Regions from separate parts of the Homo sapiens genome. Here regions 2 and 3 are each linked to region 1. The links are contacts of gene promoters, found by promoter capture Hi-C in human tissues and cell types (Jung and others, 2019). All regions are on one chromosome and are shown on one strand. Each heading gives the region's core, a stretch centred on a gene start or on the middle of the fragment in contact. The rest is flanking DNA. Distances are from core to core; before and after follow the strand shown. Region 1 holds the start of ADAMTS12 (ADAM metallopeptidase with thrombospondin type 1 motif 12). Region 2 overlaps ADAMTS12 (ADAM metallopeptidase with thrombospondin type 1 motif 12). Region 3 overlaps ADAMTS12 (ADAM metallopeptidase with thrombospondin type 1 motif 12).

The links. The method cuts DNA at HindIII sites, captures the fragments that hold promoters and counts their contacts. A contact is called where the count stands out against the background at its distance.
Region 2: a fragment that was not itself captured here is called in contact with the fragment with the promoter of ADAMTS12 in region 1 in 4 of the 25 tissues and cell types used here (H1 embryonic stem cells, lymphoblastoid cells, mesenchymal stem cells and 1 more).
Region 3: a contact is called between a fragment that was not itself captured here and the fragment with the promoter of ADAMTS12 in region 1, in 2 of the 25 tissues and cell types used here (lymphoblastoid cells and mesenchymal stem cells).

The regions. Positions count from the first base shown.
Region 1 is chr5:33,889,596-33,893,858 of GRCh38, reverse strand. ADAMTS12 (ADAM metallopeptidase with thrombospondin type 1 motif 12) reads left to right here and starts at 1,869. Exons shown (of 24, transcript NM_030955.4): 1 at 1,869-2,129. The coding sequence starts at 2,003. RefSeq lists enhancers at 1,586-2,085, 2,086-2,587. The HindIII fragment of the contact is 6,841 bases long and covers 131-4,263 here.
Region 2 is chr5:33,638,547-33,642,809 of GRCh38, reverse strand. It overlaps ADAMTS12 (ADAM metallopeptidase with thrombospondin type 1 motif 12), which reads left to right. Exons shown (of 24, transcript NM_030955.4): 11 at 855-1,000. Among named protein-coding and RNA genes, the nearest start is that of TARS1, 200 kb to the right of the region's middle. The HindIII fragment of the contact is 4,544 bases long and covers 1-3,996 here.
Region 3 is chr5:33,753,094-33,757,356 of GRCh38, reverse strand. All of the region lies in intron 2 of ADAMTS12 (ADAM metallopeptidase with thrombospondin type 1 motif 12), which reads left to right. Among named protein-coding and RNA genes, the nearest start is that of ADAMTS12, 140 kb to the left of the region's middle. The HindIII fragment of the contact is 8,072 bases long and covers 1-4,263 here.

The DNA.
Region 1 (4,263 bases), core at 620-3,119:
AGAAGAAGAGTGACAGAAGAGTACAAGGAGGAGAGAGAAACAAGGAAAGGGTGAAGGGAAGCAAAGAAGAAGGGGAAGAGGAAGAAAAGAAAAGAAGCAAAAAGAATTCTAGCCCAAAGTTGTTCTTCAATGCCCTTGCAAATGCAGGTCATCATGCCTGTGTTATCTGAATGTCTTTTAACTCCAGTTGTGATCCTGCTTCCTAATGTTTACGTAACAGAAAAAAGGCTCAGAGTAGTTCTTTTACTTGCTTGTGACAACAAAACATGTTCTGTTACACGTAAAGGGGATTTAAGGTTGCAGATGGAATTAAGGTTGCTAATCAGCTGATTAGGAGAGTGTCCTGGTTAACCAGGATGAGTCTAATGTAATCGCAAGGGTCCTTATAAGTGGAAAAGGGAGGAAGAAGAGTGATGTGATGTGAGAAAGACTCAAAGGGCCATTGCTAGCTTTGATGGGGGAAGAGGGCCATGAGCTGAGGAATTCAGGCAGCCTCTAGAAGTTGGAAAAGGCAAGACAACAGATTCTCCCCTAGAGTCTTCAGAAATGAATGCAGCTGTGCTAACTCCTTGATTTTAGCCCAGTGAGACCAGTTTCAGATCAGAACTGTCACATAAGAAATTTGAGTTGTTTCAAGCCACTGAATTTATGGTAACTTGTAACACCAAAAATAGGAAACTAGCATATACCTCTCAAAGTCTTGGTGCCCATGTGTTCCACATCTGAGAGGACCACCTTGCTTTCAGACCACTGAGTTTGCCTTGGAGGCTCTGTCCCTATACAAGGTTGAGTAAGCTGGTATCCCAGAACTCTTGATTAACACATGTGGTTGGCTGGCAGCCAGGGAAAAGTCAATATTGGGGGCCGAATTCTTCCTGAATGGAGTAAGGAGGCCTGTTTCAGCTCAGAGGTGAAAAATCTTGGCTGGATTAGCCCAGTAAATTCTCAAGATGCCTGGCAAGCGTCCTGGATTGTGGCATTCTCTGACCGATGTAAAAGCTTGAGCCTCTGAATGAATGGACGCCCTCTCCAGGGTAGCCAGTTCAGGGAAACTGGGGAGATACCTTAACACCTTCCTGGGTTGACTTAATTCCTGGTTTCCTTTTGAGTGAATGGAGGTGGGCTAGGAAAGATGGGGTTCTAGAATCAGAAGAGCCGCACAGAGATCTGCAGACTCAGAGGGGCCCACAGGCATTTGCAGCAGTCACCTCATTGCACAGCTGAGGGGGCTTGTCTGAGGTCACATTAGCAGATTAGCGCAGCCCATTTCCCTTTGTGTGACTTGGCAAAGAGAAAAATCGCCTATTAGTTTTTCCAGTGGAAGAGAATCCCAGAGCGGTCCGAGTGGGTGAGGAGTCTTGATAGAGCGATGTTGGGAAAAGTTCAGGAACTTGGAGGAGAACAGCAGGGGAGGGGGCAGCGCTGAGCGCGGAAGGATGGAGGGAGTGGGGCCCCCCTCTGCCTCAACTCTGTTCTCCTCATTTTGAGCTTGTATTTAAGCACGCCGGGGGGCTGGCCTGGGGGCCTCTCACTCGCAGCTTCCTCCAGTGCCTCCCAGGGCGGCTCTCCCGGGTCTCCCCTATTTGGCCGGCTCGGCCAGCTGGGCCTGGCGTTCGGGGCGGGGCCGGAGGAGCGCGGGGGTGGGAGTCCGGGAGGAAGATGCACCGAGCGGGCGGGCTGCGAGGCCGCGGGGCATGCGGGAGGCGGAGGGGTGGGGACCGGGGTGGGCTGCGCCCTCCCGCTCTGGCCCATTCCACACCCCGCCGAAAGCGGACACTGTCAGCTGAATCACTCCCCTTTTAGGAGGAGGGAGGGGAAAAAGGTGTCTAGCTCCTTTCTGCTTAAAAAAGCACAGGGAGATCGCGGGCAGCTTTGCAGTCGCTGCCTTCTCGCGCCTGACCATGCACCCCTGCATCTTCCTGCTGGGCCACAGGCGAGCGCTTTATTTCTGGAGCTGAGGGCTAAAACTTTTTTGACTTTTCTTCTCCTCAACATCTGAATCATGCCATGTGCCCAGAGGAGCTGGCTTGCAAACCTTTCCGTGGTGGCTCAGCTCCTTAACTTTGGGGCGCTTTGCTATGGGAGACAGCCTCAGCCAGGCCCGGTTCGCTTCCCGGACAGGAGGCAAGGTTAGTGACTCTTCTTTATTTCTTTTTAAAACAGTGGTGGTAAGACTTGCGGGAATTTTGTTGCTCCCCTTTCCCTTCCCCCACCCGGCAGAACTGAACTCTGAAAAGCCATTTGGCTGCGTTGTAAGGAAATCTGGGCTGGGACCTCAGGAGCCTAGGCTTTCTCAGAATTCAGTGCTTAAGGTGATGAGTCCTTCATTCTTATAGAAAGGTGAGTACCTCACTCTTTTACAGGGATGACACTGCAGTCTTTGAAAGACCCAAGAGGTAGCTGGTAACTTTTTCTCTTTTGTCTCCTCTTTGAATGCTGTACTGTTTTGATCCCCTATTTTTCAGACTCTAAACATGGAAAATTTTTTTTTTAAGTGCTAACTGGCTACTGGCCGTCATTGCAGTGTTTCTAGTTAGTTTTAAACCTCTGGTCAGGAAAGGGGAAATGTGATTCTTCCCCCCTACTGAGCAGGCTTGGCTGTGTTTTGGTTTCCTGGAAAGATTTAGGGTTGTATTTTTGAAAGAATAGTCCTTTTGGGGGAACTATACCTCCATAAGGGCTCACTTTTTCCTGTCCTGTCTCACTGACCACAGCTGGCTGCTTCTCTTTATGAATTTCTGAACTCATGTTATTGTAGGAAGCATTGGAAGCGTTCTGGTGGACAATTTGTTGTTGTTGTTTTATTCTTTTAAGCCTAACAGTCAGCAGTTTATTGGACTTGGAAGGGTCAGAGGCACCTTCATGTTTGGTGGGGGGTTCATTGTACCTCTGGGGGTAAACAGTCCTAGCAGCAGCAATGGCCCGCGTGGCACTCTGTGTCAGCCCATCCGATCACTGGCAATAGCCTTCCAGGGTGCAGGTACCAGTGTTGCTGTCCCTGCTGTACAGATGAGGATGCTGCAGCTTGGAGAGCTTATGAGGCCAGCTAATGTAGAGCAGAGTTTTCAGCTCAGGTAGTCTGACTCTTAGAATCATGCAGCACTGTCCTGTAGCAATAATAGGGACACACACGCACACACACACGCATATGCACCCACACGCATGCACACGCACACAGAGCACTGGGTTAGCATGCACTAAGTCCTGTGTTTGCTGACTGTGCTGAAGCCTCGGGAAGTGTCCTCCATGACTTTCTGACATCCCTTTAATTCCCAAGGCCACTCGGGTGATAAACATCACCAGCCTGTCCTTGTTTAGGATTTCTAAGCAGGGTTTTCTGCTCATGTTGTAAAATTCAAATATTGCTGGACAACTCATCTGCTGTGGCTTCAAGACGTATCAGAAGCAAGTCCCTCTCTTTGCTTTACTTGGAAAGCTGGAGCCAGCAAACACTGGGGTTAGATGTCAGTCAGCCAGCACTCACTTGTGTAAACGGTCCAGATACAATCTCCCACCCCCAAGTTTAAAATAGCAGGGCTTGTTGTTCTTTGAAAAACAGTTCCTTTGTGAAAAGTCTCCCTTCTGGGGCAGCACAAACAAAGCCTGCAAGCACTTCCCAGGGCATTTGGAGATGATTTCGTTCAAAGACACACATTCTCCTGGGTTGGTTTTCAGCTCTGCTCCACATCTTCTTTGTAAGGGAATTCAGCTTGGTGTGAAGCAGACACCACGGGGCCATGGTTTTTGCTCTCTGGAAAGTGAGATATGATTATTTTCCCTAGTCACCTCTATCTAGAGCTATGTGCTGAGAGTATCCACTGTTCAAAAAACCTATAAAGTGCTCCAAGCTTATTGGTGATATATATATTTATTTAGGTTTAAAAATAATTAGAGGTTTTTGTTTTTCGAGGCTGAGTCTTGCTCTGTCTCTCAGGCTGGAGTGCGGTGGTGCAATCTCAGCTCACTGCAACCTCTGCCTCCCGGGTTCAAGTGATTCTCCTGCCTCAGCCAACCAAGTACCTGGGATTACAGACGTGTGCCACCATGCCCGGCTAATTTTTGTATTTTTAGTACAGACGAGGTTTCACCATGTTGGCCAGGCTGTCTCCAACTCCTGACCTCAGGTGATCTGCCCACCTTGGCCTCTTAAAGTGCTGGGATTACAGGTGTGAACTACTGTACCCAGCCAATAATTTCAGTTTTTAAAAGCATTTCACCAACCACAATCAATTCCCTAGTGGATTTACAAATAATCCACATTTG
Region 2 (4,263 bases), core at 475-2,974, 250 kb after region 1:
TGGCAGGACCCCTCACTGAGATTACAGAACCCGGGCAAAATACACAGTGGCCAGAAAAAACACAAGAGGAAAAAAAGGATATCAGACAATAAAACATGTCCAAATCCTCCAGGAAATGTGGTTATTCACGACAACCACATAGCATTTCCCTTTGTTTTCATTTTTGTATATTTACTCTCCTAAACCGATAGTCGTGGAAGGATTGCCTTGAAGAGGGGAGAGAGTGGATTTTTTCTTAGTTGCTTGAAAGGCCAGAGCTGCAAACAATGGGTAGAGTTAAAAGAAAGTGTAATTTTTTTCTTGATGTAATGAAGAACTTCCTAACAGCTAGTGTGTTTTGGCAGTGAAATTGACTTTTTGCAGCGGATGAGTTCTCTGTTGCAGTCATTAAGTTCCCAGAGAGCTATAAAGAAGTGCTATTCGCTGTGCCAGTCTGTGAACTATTGTGGTTTGCAACAAGATAAGGATCATGCACCAGAAAGCAAATCAACTATGTTACTAAGCAACTATGTTGCTAAGCATACTAAGCTGACATGCTTTTCCTAACAAGACTTTCTCAATGAAAAAAGTAGTATGTTGATTTACATTCTCGTGCTCGATCTGCCAACCACACTGTGTAGCACCTGTGTGATTAGGCAACGTAAAGTTTCCTTCCATTCTTGAAACTCTCTGATTCTAAAACCCACGACTCTTGGCAGAAACTTATATGAGCCCCTGTTTGTTTTACATCTGATATGTGACTGTAGAAAGCCGGCTTGCTTGCAGAGAATTGGGTTTAGACTTTTAGGGCTCTTGGCTCAGCTTGCTCTGGTAACCTTCCTGATACGGCCATCTCCTGCCTCTTCCCTTTCCAGTGGTGTATGGCAGGCAAGTGCATCACAGTGGGGAAGAAACCAGAGAGCATTCCTGGAGGCTGGGGCCGCTGGTCACCCTGGTCCCACTGTTCCAGGACCTGTGGGGCTGGAGTCCAGAGCGCAGAGAGGCTCTGCAACAACCCCGAGTGAGTCCAGATAAATATATTTCCCTTCTCTCCACATGTGCTGGGGGCGGGATGGGGGGCAGTCTTGAATGGCATGACCTCAGTGACCCCAAGCCTCCTCCAGGTAAATTAAATGGGTTCCCAGGACAAAACAGAACAAGAAGATTCACAGAGAGTGGGGAAAAAAAGTGGTTCTGTTTTGTGTTGTTTCATTTCGGCTTGGCACTGGATTCTCACTAAAACTTGGATAAGTAAGCTGATTTTATCATTTGGGGAAATAAAGCAAATTTCTTTTAAATGTGCAATCTATGTGAAAGCCTCTAGGAGATTATACAATTAAATCTTTTTAAATAACTCAATTTTATCAGTAGAGATTAGTGAAACGCAATTTTGCTGATAAGATTGTAGCTTGCTTTCAATGATAATGAATACACAATTTTATGAGAATAATTCTTTCCTTAAGCAACTAGTAAAACAGGTACATTTTTGAGGACAATTATTTTTAATATTTTTCGATAAGGATTTTTATAAACCCTAAAGTTCCGCAGTGGCCTGTTAAGGATTCTGCAAATGTTATTTTACAAGTGACTTTCAATTGTTTAAGCAAATTGCTTAATTTTTCATATATTCTATTTGTATGATAATATTATATATGAGGTAAATTTAAACTTGCTTGTTTTCCAAATACACATTACATTCTTAATTTCATTATTTTCTGATATACTGTCTCCCAAGTAATTTCTTAAAAGTGTATATGTGATATCTCCTTTAAGTGGAAATTATATTGTTTCTTTTATCTAAATTTACATTCATCTACTTTGAAAAGTAGGAGTCACATTTTTTAAAAGGCGAGCAATAAAAGTGATTTTATCTCTCAATATCTCAATTCCAAAGGTTATTTATCCTTTTTGTTAATAACTGTATTACCTAGATGTATAGTATTTAAATATAAGTATATGTATATATGAATATATATGCATGTATACATTACATATATACATATATACACTATATATATTATATATTTTTTCTAAGGGTTAATAAGTTAGTATGTGTAAGGAATTTAACACAGTATCTACTACATAATAAAGTGTTAATAAATAGTAGTTATTATGAATCTTTATCATTTACCACATTTATAAGCATGCATTTGGAAATTCTTCACAAAATTATTTTAAAATTTCACCCTTTGATGAAAGTTGTTTTATTTAAGTACTGGGTTTCTGTGACTTTCAAAATTCAAAACCAAGAGTTTCTCATAGAGTATTTTGTTTTTAGAGAAAATTGTCATTTAATCGTTTGTTTCCATTTGATCCAGAAATGTGATTTCCATTTTCATTTGAGAGATCAGAAAAGAAAGGCAATTTGCTCTGGGACTTATTGTCAATGCTGTATATTCAGACACCACCAGTGTGAAAGTTCTTGGCAGGTTGGTCAGTGACTTGTGGCTATCAGAGAAGGGAACTCCTAGTTGAGGAGGTGAAGGATGAATCTCTAACCTGGCTTCAGGAGAAAGGTAGTTCTAATTCTCATCTCCAAGGCCACAGTTTGTCATAGAGTCTCTTTGGGTGAGTGGACATGCCTGTTCTTCATTGCCGGTTTGCTTAAATTCATTGCTAACACTGCCAATGGCACCGCATCATAGATTTGGATCTGTGGTTCAAGTCACAGATTCAGGCCAGTGCATGAGCCAGCTGATCTTGGGACTGCATCCTTGCTGTAGGTCAACTGTCTAGTGAGAACCCAGCAGAGCTCGGCTCATAAGAGGCTGTCAGTGATATTGATTGGATGGAAATGAATTGGAGACATACCAGGTCATAGAGTGTCCCTGCATCAGCACAAATAGAAAACCAGCCTCACCTTAAATAACAAGGACAATTCTTGGTACCTCCTAAAGGGAATCAACAAATTAAGAGCCTACTATGTGAACTGCCTTGGTCAAAACTCTTTCATGAGTGAGGAACAGAAGCTTACTCAGGCCACATTGAGGGAGGGGAGGTATAGAAAATCTCATGGGCATTCAAGGAGAACAAAGTACAGCAGAATCAACAAGAATTACAGCTGCAACCAGTACTTGACTAGACTGCCAGGATTTGAGTTCTCTGTCTCTCAGGATTTTGTGGTCAGGCAGTGTAACATAGTGGATAAGAGCTCAGGCTTTGGATCAAGGAAGACGACGATTCAAGTCTTGGCTTTGCCACTACCACCTGTGTCCTTTGGGGAGCTGTTCTAGCTTTCTGTGTCCCTGGAATACGATTTCATCTGGACTGCTCGCTCGACATGCCTTCTGCCTTTGCACTGAGAAGGACTTTCCAGTCGTCCTTTAAGACCATTCTCCAGGACAAGCCCTTCCGTAAATCCTTCCCAACTAGCCTCATTTCCATGGCTTTCCCCTTCACATAACTCTCATTGTACTTTCAGTCTGGGATACATAATTGCTGTCTTAAATTTTCTCTCATTTCTTATATAGCTCATTTTTTTCTCCTCAACCAAATTATAAACTTCTAGGAAGCATAGAGCATGGGTTGACCTTCATTTGCACTCTCTTCTCCCTGAACAGTGTTGAGCACATGGTAGTATATAAATGCTGGTTGATTATTATTCACGATAACCAAAAAAAATGCTCTCAGTTATTGATCTCTCATTCTGTGTTAGTTACTCTACTAAATCTGTGTGTGCATTGTCTCATGCAATACAACTTGTGAGATAAAAACTATTATGCTCATTTTACAAACGAAAAAAAACTGAGGCTCAGAGAAATGAGGTAACTTATTCAGATCCATCTAACAAAAAGATAATACCAAATTCGAACTCCAGGCTATTGGCACTCCTGCGATAGGAGGCACACTCCCTGATTCAGATACTGCAGCAAGATGGAGACCAGAAGGCATGCCTGGGAACCTTCTCAAAGGATAGTTTCTTCACGTCTCCCCTCTCCCATTTTGAGAGACCCATTGATCCTGACAGGAAGGCTGGTATGCCCTCAGGTGTATCACAAAGGAAAGAAAAATCAAAAAGTGATTTTTCTAAAATAAGATTAACTTATTCACCCATTGAATATCTATTAAGAGCCTCCTATGCCCAAAGTACTGTGAGGCACCACAGAGGACACAGAGCTTGGATTGTGCCATCAAAGAACTATCTTTGGGAATGATAGATTCAGGACGTGCAGGCAGCTGGCACACAAAGTGTCACTGAAGAGGAGAAAAAAATTACTGCTGGTGGAAATCCAGGAAGGATTCGTGAAGGAGGTAGCATTTATTTAGTTCTTCAAGCATGAGCAG
Region 3 (4,263 bases), core at 836-3,335, 140 kb after region 1:
TCCTGTTACATTTATTCCCAATGATTCATTTTAATTTTGGTGAATGTTGCATTTTTTATATCCAGGTGTTTCTATTGATTCTCTGAAGCCTGTGTGCAGTGCACGGGTGTTCCCAATCTGGCTCCTGATGTATTTGCTTATGAAAACCAAACCATTATAGTGAAGTAGGTCACATTTTTGCAGTTCATTTGCTTTTAAGGCAAGTGCTTAAATTGGCCCTGATGACAGCTGTCATCACTATAGGTGAATATACTTATGATTATGAATCTCTCTCTTTCCTTACTTGGCCAATCTTTACAAATAAGCTGTCCAATATTGGAGCCACTAACTGCCAGTGGCTGCTTAAATTTAAGCTAATTAAATTTAAATAAAATTAAAAATTCAGCTTCTCTGTTGCATTGGCTATATCTCAAGTGCTCAACAGCTGCATGGGGTTAGTGGCTCCCAAATTGAACAGTGCAGATACAGAACGTCTTCATCACCACAGGAAGTTCTGTTGGACAGCACTGTTTTAGGGCAGAGGGACCAGCTCTGTTGTGTTGCTGTATCCCTGATACCTGCTTGGGTCATGGTAACTATCAGGCAGATACACCAATGTCTTCCTGGCTTCAGTCCATATTTCCTGAAACCACATGAGTTACTAGGGCTGCCCAGACTCATATGCAAAATCTTCATGAATTGATGACATCACTGGTCACTCTCTTCATTGGCTTCATGGAGGCCACTTAGGCATCACAGCAGAGGGTAGGGTGTGCTGGGTGAAATCTTCCCGGTGGTCCTACTCCCACCTCTCTTTATTCTGAGGCTTCTATAATCTCTTGACTTATACTTTCTGCTGACTTATTATTTTGGCTGTGTATTACATGAGAAAAAAACTGTCTCTTGCAAACCAGCAACAAGAAATAATAATTTGGAGAGCCTCTCATGGCTTTAAGACTGTGTCAAGTGTTCTGGAGTCTGTGGAAGTTCAATCTTGGCTTCGCCGCCTAAAAGCAGCCACTCTCAGTGGCCTCCGAAACACAGTGCTGGAATCCATAGCACCCATGGAAGTGCCGCTCCAGTGAGGGCTGTGTTCTGTGGGGAAGGGCTCTGTGACACAGGACTTCAGGTCTGGGCTCTAGGCCCAGTGCCACCAGAGGCCATGGGTTTGCCTCTTGAGTTGTGTGAACACTAAGTCCTTTTCAGCATAAAATTACCCTGGGCTTTGCTGTTCCCTTCCCTACTTGTTAATGAACATCAGCCTTGTCTTCATGGCTGGATTGCATATAAACCTTGAGGGCAGGGTCAGTACCTTTCTTAGCCCTCTCAGCACAGGGCTGACCCTATGATAGATATAGATTGATACTTTGTAAGAGGAATTTTTGGGGTGCTATTTTATCCTTTTTCCTGCCTATATGATGGGGAACAGGTGATGTCTTTTCCAGTGCTTCGTATACTATTGGGTACCTTGGGTACCTCTTTATCCTCAATTTTTTTTCTGTTCTTGATTTTGGAATGTGTTGTGTTGTCTTTGTCACTACAAGAATAAACAAATTCATCTGGTAACATCTGCGATTTTCAAATGAGTAAAAGGAATTTTCAAGGCAGGGTGATGGTTTCAGAAGCACAGTTCCATCACACAAGTCTGGGGTGCCTTCATGTGTCTTTTACACTATCATTGGCTCTTACCCTTCAGGCTTTACTTGTGGTACTCCAGAAGGCACAACAGCATGGGGTGGGTGACTCTTCAAGGTCTCTAGTCTCTGTGACTCTAGAACATTCTATTCACAAATTCCATATAAGATGCTGTCAGTTTCCCTCTAACCCCAGATCACTGTCACTAATTGAAGTAAAATATCACATACATCAAGATGACTAATATGTTGATGCAAGTTGAGGGGAGGGAGGAGAGATTACAGGCAACTCTTCTCACTCTGGGACTGTTCTGAAGAGTGCAACAATCCTTCCCCATCCTTCCTCATCAAAGAGCAGTGGAGGTCAAATACCAGCTGGCTCACACCAATGCATCTCAGCCTTTGGTCTTATCCCTACCATCTGGGCTTGCCATATTTCTCCTAAAGCAATATGAAGAGTCTGATTTAATAAGCCAGGGGAAATTCGCCCACTGTAACAAAATCTTTTTTATTGGTCAGCCCCTAACTCTTGAAATGAACTAGTAGCCTTTTTGTGTTTGTGCGTATATCAAATATTTTTTCCTCCAAAGAATTCAAAATAGGCTCAAAACTAACATTTCAGTGTTGGAAATCAGGATCATTGTTACCCTTGGGGGATGTTATTGATCTGGAGAGGGAACAGGGAGTCTCTCAGCTGCTGGTAATGTTCTATTTCTGCATCTAGGTGTTCTTTTTATAAAACATTTATGAGGATTTACAACTAGGATTTTGCACATCTCTCCATATGTTTATAATGCTTCAAAATAAAGTTTATTTAAAACAGTTTTTAGTAGACTTGGGAAGCATTCACAGATACTTATTTATTTATTTATTTATTTATTTTGAGATGGAGTTTTCTTCCCTCTTGTCTCCCAGGCTGGAGTGCAATGGCGCAATCTCGGCTCACTGCAACCTCCGCCTCCCAGGCTTAAGCAATTCTCCTGCCTCAGCCTCCCAAGTAGCTGGGATTACAGGCACGTGCCACCACACCTGGCTAATTTTTGTAGTTTTAGTGGAGACAGGGTTTCACCATGCTGTTTCACCATGTTGGCCAGGCTGGTCTCGAACTCCTGACCTTGAGTGATCCACCCACCTTGGCCTCCCAAAGAGCTGGGATTACAGGCATGAGCCACCGTGCCCAGCCAGATGTTTTTAACTTAGTTAAAACAAGTAGGTGAGTTTATTTCCAAAAGACAGTTAGCAGTATGCAGAGACTCCTGGATACTGGGTGGGAGAAGAGCAGATGGCACAGGAGGTGAAGGGGCATGTTTATCTTCGAGCTTTAGCCTAGGGCTCATCCTGCCCAGGTTCTTCTGAATGCCCAGTGCAAGTCCTCACTAAATTGGATACTTTTTCCTCAATTCCATTTCCATTCTCCTTTAAAGATGTAAGAGAAGTGGGCAGGTTGCAAAGGAGACCAGAATGGAAACTATTTTCTTTGGATAAGGTACAGACCTTGTAACAGAAGAAGGTGGTTCTCTTGGGCAATTTGCTTCAGGGAAAGTATGGGGCCAGCCCTTTCTTTGGAAAGCAAACCACGGGTGATTTTTTTCTAGCATGACCCTGGCTCCAGTTAGATGAGAAGAGATCAATAAACTGGGCCCACCTGGGTACTAGATGTACAAAGCCCTGTGTTTATATGTTGGGAGAGAGAAGAGGTGCAGAGCTCAGATGAGGAATTCCCCACCTCACTCTCCCTACAGCTGCTTCATCCCCTCTCCTACCTATTCCTTTCTCTGTGACAAACACACGAGATCCTGGGACCAGCAGCCTACTTGCATGTCAGCAGATCTCTGGCTTCTCCTCTAGTGGATGAGTCAGCAGCTCTCACAGGTTTCCAGGTAGCTTCTGAGAAATATTGAGGTTGAATAGGTGATTTTCCGCGTGCACCCTGGCAAGACCACTTTGTGGAGGAATGCAAATGGAGTAAGCCTTTAGGAAGATGCTGGTTTGGTTCTCAGGCTTTCTTATTCATGTTGCCCGTAAAATGGTTATTATGTCCTCAAGTGGAGCCCCATCTGTTTCTTCTGTGCCGCTTGGGTCCAAAATTTGAGGCTGAGGAAATATCAATAACTCCTTCATCTTGGTGGTGTCTTTTGTAGTTTTTCTCCTTCAAGGACATCAGTATTGGGCTGATAGCAGGTACACTAAGGGCCCCTAGGTCCAATCATCTTTGAGGACTCCTGGACTTCTGCTTTGTTTCCATAGAACAAATGAGCTTTCTGACAACAGGCTCACATTTTCCTCTTGTGCCTGGTCTCTGACTCAGAGGAGAAACGGAACCAAATCTCAGTACTGCACAGAGTCTGTTTCCCACTATTTTATGGCAGTTATTTGACAACTGTCTTTGGGCCTTGTCCGTTCTTCCTTCCTGTTCCAGAGATTGTCCTTAGAGACAGATACTGAAAAAAATGTCATGTTTTCTAAGCAATGTAAGCATAGAAGCAAATTATGTCAGATGTAACTGCTATTGGCGTTGGTAGTTAAAGTATTACCCCTCTGCATTTATAAAGCAGTTTGCATGGCACTTTTACAAGCTTCACCTCATTTGATTCCCCGAACAGCCCTATGAGGTAGTAGGCGTTGCCCCCTTTTACAGAAGAGGACTTTG